Linked DNA regions of Homo sapiens: region 2 is linked to region 1. Evidence: promoter capture Hi-C in human tissues and cell types (Jung and others, 2019). All regions are on one chromosome and are shown on one strand. The core of a region is centred on a gene start or on the middle of the fragment in contact, and the rest is flanking DNA. Distances in the headings are between cores, read along the strand shown. Region 1 holds the start of TMEM108 (transmembrane protein 108). Region 2 overlaps TMEM108 (transmembrane protein 108).

Region 1 (2,700 bases), core at 174-2,673:
TTTGAAGGTATCAGGATGTCTCCAAGGGACAAGGTAGAGAGACCCTTATCCATCTCATACCAGAAAGAGTTCTGAATAAATTACGTGGAAAGTCCAGAACACAGTAATATCTTCATAATGAGTTAGTTGAACCATTTCTTACAGAGTAGATTACCAGGTGTATCCAACAAATCAAGAAGTTAACCCGTGGAAAATTGAAGGGACTTTTTATGTTTGCCTATGAGCTGTCTGGGGAAATGGAGGAGAGGCAGGGAATACTTTCCATAGCTTGACCTGCTCTTAAGTTCCTGGACATACCTTCCCCTTTTTAAAGTATGATTTAAAGGCAACAATCCATCTCCCCCGGACTCCCATACAAACCTCTTTTGGCAGCCAAATGGTCTTCATCGAGCACACACTTTTCAAAGAATTAAGGACGTGTGAGTAGGTTTAGTTTAGACCCTGCCTTCCCTCTCCCCACAACCCAGTAACATGCTGAAAATAAGTAATAACCTTCCTGGGTACCCCCAGAAAAACCTGTTTGCAGAAACTACAACCTTTCCTCCGAAAAAAACCCCTATCTTCTTAAGGAAGAATCTCAGTGTGGTGGTCTGCAGTTCACTGCAGGCATTTCCCTCCTCACCATTTACCAGTCATCAGTTACGCTGCATCTGAAATTGGTTTTTGTAGACTTTCATTTAGACCGGCTCCACCGGTGCCCAACTGCTTAAAAAAAAAAATAGCCCCTGAACCAATCTCTGGATTCCTCCAGCAGGCTCAAAGCGTTCAATTTCGCTGCAACTCTGGGGTGAAAACCGCCAGGTCCAGCCGGCAGAGCAACCTCCCGGGCAGCACGGAGGCTCCGTCCCCGGCGAGGCCGCCGGCACCTAGGCAGGAGGGCTCTTCGCACAGCTGCGCTAGGAATTCGGCTCCGCTCGCGGCCGCAGGATTAGTTCGAGTCCCTCGGGCTGGCCAAAGTGACACTACATTTCTTCTTCTTCGTTTCCCCATGTGACAGGTCCCCCTGCATTAAAGCCACCTCCTCCTCGGCCCCAGCCCAGGTCCAGCGCTCCTGACGCCCGCGCCCCATCACCCGCACCCTCCACCTGGGGAGGGGGTTCATGCCAGCAACCCTCCAGGCGGGAAACAAAGGCGGAGGCAGGGCTGCCAGGTGGGCAACTCCCCTCGGGCAGACCCGTCACGCAGTGGGGAGGATGGGAAGGTGCCTGAGAGGATAGGAAAAGGGAAACCAAGGCAACCGGGGCTGCATCCTCCCTGAAGCTGGGCTCCCGGGGCAAGCTGACCCCACACCTCCCCGAGCCCCGCCCAGCCCAGCCTAACCCGCTTGCCGGGACCCAGCATGGGAAGGACTGGGGGGACGCCCCGGAGCGCCGCTTACCTCGGGAGAAGCGCTCCGGCTCCCTCCGACGGCTCAGGAGAAAGCCCCACCGCTCGCGCACGCGCTCTCGCGCACTCGCGCCTTCGCCCCTCGGGCCCCCGCGCGCGCCCCTCCGACCAGGCTCTGGCCCGCCCCGGCCTTGTCCGTCAGCGTCCGCGACAGCCAATCCGGTCGCACGGAAGGCTCAGCGCCGGTCACGTGGTGAGACCAGCCAATCACCAAATTGCCCTCGGCAGCGCCCGCTCCGATGTCTCTGGGGGTTCGGTTGCTACCTAGCAGAGCGGGTGCGAGGCGGGCACAAAGGGTCTCTGTTTTCGGGGGCTAAGTGGCACTCAGTTGATCAATTACCAGATCAATTGACTTCTCAAATTCTAATATAAATAAGAATCACTTGACTCTCTTGTTAAAATGCGGATTCTGATCCAGAAGGTCTGGGGTGGAGACCTGAGATCCTGCATTTCTAATAAGCTCCCAGGTGGCGATGACGAAGCTCTTGGTCGGAGGATCACGCTTTGAATTGCACCTGTCCGAAAGTAATGGCTGTAGCCCCAGCTCCACGTAATTTGAAACTTGCACGACCTTTCTTGTCCTTCTTCCACTGATGAGAAGCGTTCCTGTGGCTACATGGGGTGTCCCGGTGATGCTTACAGTTTGGGCACCAGCTGAGGGAAGGTGTGTTTAATCCCCACATTACCCACCCTTGGTCTATGGAGCAGCAATCATGCCAACTTGGTGACTGGAGTGTGGAACCAGAAGTGGAGACGGAATGGCCATGGAAGAGAACACTGTGTCTACGTTAATCCTAAAGGGTTGGGCGTGTGTGTCTGAGTGGCGCGGTGCCAGACACTTGGCCAGAGAAGTGGTATAAGTGGTCCCTGCTTCTCAAAACGTAACAATTTGTTGTAGAACTATACAGGCTAGTTCAGAAAGAAGCATGTGGAGAAAACATCCGGGAAGCTAACAGTCACAGCACAAATTCAGGCATAAGCTAAAGAGGTTGTAAAATAATATGCCTTGAGGGTCTTAAAAACTGTCCAAATATTCTTCTGTCAGTAATTCCAGAGTCTAGAAGTTAGGACTCCCACTGGCCCTGTCATTTCTCAAATTTGACCTAAGGACTCAGTGTTTTCGGACTGGCCAGCTAGAACCTTTGTCGTTCAGCGTAGCCAAGCTCTTATTACCCAGTAGTGTACCGCCGTGGTTCAAGATTCTTAAGTGCTGAATTCTCCAAAACCTTCATCTCTCATCTCTTGAAACCAGGTGGTATAACCCTGCTTCAGCATTTCTCTCTCACTATCAAGGTGATCAAACTGTCGCTTAGA
Region 2 (2,785 bases), core at 177-2,676, 52 kb before region 1:
AAGTTCTAGACATCTGCTATCTTTTACATAGCTGGTTCCTTGTCAGGCTGTATCTGGAATGAAGTTGACTTCTATGTATTACTAAACTGTTTATAAAATCAAGGCTCAAATGATGGGTTGTTTCCTCTTGACTACCATCTCTACCATTTCAATAGGTATCAGAGAAGAGTGCCTCAGTTTAGCAGAAGAGGAAAAGCTGTCGTCTTCCTCCCAAGACATGCCTTGCAATTTGGAAGCTCCAAGTACTACTGAAGTCATCATACTTTATAGACTCAGCATCTTATTAGACAGGGACAAACTAGTTGATGATTAGCAAGAGTAGATACCAAATAATGCGTTTTCTCTGAGAGGCTCAAAACAATCATGATACATTCATGCTCTTATGCTACCATGATGGTTTGGGTTTTGTTTTTTTTTTATAAGAAGTCTCTCAAATCAGAGAAATATTTCTTCATCAGTTCATTTTCTGCCTTTAGTCAAAGCCTAATCAAATGAGGCTGGGAGAGGCAATACTTTACATTTCTCTACTGCCTCTTCTAGCCTCGTTTGATTAGGTTTTGCCTAATGGCAGAAAAATGAACTTGATAACCTCTCACAGTCTTCCCTAGGCCAAAGTATTTGAATAAGTAGCTGGTGAATAAGTAGAGTGGTATTTAACTTCTTTAATGACAAATGCAAAGTTTTCAAGTATGATACTAATTAATTTGTAAATTCCTGATAAGAAAAATTATCCCACCCATCACATGGTTTCCTTAGCAGCTTACTAAACCATATTATGCATCATAATCAATAAATGTCAGGGGAAGAATAAATAAGAAACAGAAAGTTATGACAGATGTGCATTAAGTAGACATAAAAGCCACTGATCTAGTCAACAAGTCCATAAGAATAGCTGTCCCTTGGCCTGGTTTGTGGTTAGTTACAATCTATTATTGCCCCATAATTCACACTCACTGGGGAAGCCTACCTGAACAGAAGATCCCTGTAAAGAGGATCTAGAGTACAGAAAAAGCCAGGACAATAATAAATACAAGTAACAAATATATGGAAAAGTTCAATTTCTCAGGTAATCAAAGATATACAAATTAAAATAAGATACCATGTTTTATCTAAGAATCTAGGAAATATTTTTAACAGTAACAGTGTCAGTAGACTACATTGAAATAGATACTCTCATGTACTTCTACAGGAATTACAAATTGGAATCAGCTTTTTGGAAGTATTCTGGCAATGTTTATTAAAAATGTATATATTTAACCCAATAGTTTTACTTACAGTGATTTACCCTAAAAATTCACAAATATTAATCTAATGTGCAAGGATGATCATCACTTTTATAAAAGTAAAAAACAGCAGATAACTATCATTTAACAAAAGCAGTATGTTAATAAATTCTGGGAGCTCCATATAATAGAATACTTTCAAGTTCTCTAAGAATATTTAGTGACATAGTAAATTATAAGATGTGTGAAAATGTAAGATATATGTCCTTAAATTCAGTATGATCTTAATTTTATAAAATAAAAATATATCCCTATATGCATGTAAATTATACCGGAAGGAAAAACTCCAAACTGCTAACCAATGAGTTTCTGTGGATGCTGACTGCATGGGAGATTGCCCCACTCTTAAAAATGCGCCTTTGAAATTTCTTACGATAATTCTTAAGAGAATGGTAGTGCATTGACTTCTCAAGCTTTACTTGGCAATATATGAATATATTATTTCTTTATAGTAATGCGAAATGACTTACTGATGCTTACTGATGGCTTTGTCCCAAAAGTGTCTGCCTACAGCTGAGATGGGAAAGAATCCTAAAGATACAAGGGCCTCACGCCCCTATTACTTAATCCCAACAATACAGCAGCTATGTAATAGTTCCCTTTTAAATTAAATGGGAGGAAAAAGACTCCTGAAGAATTGTTATGTTTATCAAGCAATAAGAATGACATCACTGCCTTGAAATGCCAGAGAGTTCAAGAAATGCTCCCTGATGACCTTTTGCTTGGTTCCAGGTGTTTTGTATGAAAGATTTCAGGGAAGTTTTTTGTTTCGTTTTAATGGGAAAGACTACAGATCCTACAGTGACAATCTACATGTTTTTAAAACAATGATCTCTCTCTCAGGTAATGATTCATTTTGTACTTAGGCACTGGCCACAAAGTTTCCAGGGTTTCAGTAACATGCCTCTAAAACCCACTGGCCACCACCTTCCATTGTTAAGGTGTTCTTCATGCTTGCTGGTCTCATTTTAATCTACAACCTATGTTCAACCCACAGGGCTGACAGAGTAAGAACTTGCCTTTAAATTCCAGTAGCTGAGCCCTTCATTTTTGCATAGTTTGATTCAGGAATAAATTCTACATATTAAACACATGCTAAATTGACATTTAATTGAACTTGAAACTCTTACAAATGCTGATATACAGCCAGCAAACAAATCTATTTGCTGTCTATTCAAGATAGTCAGACCTGCCTTCAGCAGGTCAGTTTATGAATGAACTAGGTTTTCAACCAGACCATTAGCATTTTTTCCTAAGAATCAGAAAACAAGAGATAGCTTGCACCTCTGAACCATGCAGCCTGGTATTAATCTGGGATTATAGAAGGTAGACAATCATTAAGCCAACCTTTTTCCTGCTCCCAAACATCTTTTCTCCTCTCTGTCCTTGTCAAGTTCACTGTTTCTTCAGTTACTATTTATATGAAGTGACAACCTATAATTGGTGTCACTAGACTCACCTGCCCATAGAGCACCACATGAGTCCATGAGGCACATTCAGAG

Evidence for each region. The method cuts DNA at HindIII sites, captures the fragments that hold promoters and counts their contacts. A contact is called where the count stands out against the background at its distance.
Region 2: a contact is called between a fragment that was not itself captured here and the fragment with the promoter of TMEM108 in region 1, in 2 of the 25 tissues and cell types used here (pancreas and psoas muscle).

What each region holds. Positions count from the first base shown.
Region 1 is chr3:133,037,114-133,039,813 of GRCh38, reverse strand. It overlaps TMEM108 (transmembrane protein 108), which reads right to left and starts at 1,423. Exons shown (of 6, transcript NM_023943.4): 1 at 1,379-1,423. RefSeq lists an enhancer at 1,435-1,729. The HindIII fragment of the contact is 13,936 bases long and covers 1-2,700 here.
Region 2 is chr3:133,089,491-133,092,275 of GRCh38, reverse strand. The region is part of intron 2 of TMEM108 (transmembrane protein 108); the gene reads right to left. Among named protein-coding and RNA genes, the nearest start is that of TMEM108, 52 kb to the right of the region's middle. The HindIII fragment of the contact is 4,180 bases long and covers 1-2,785 here.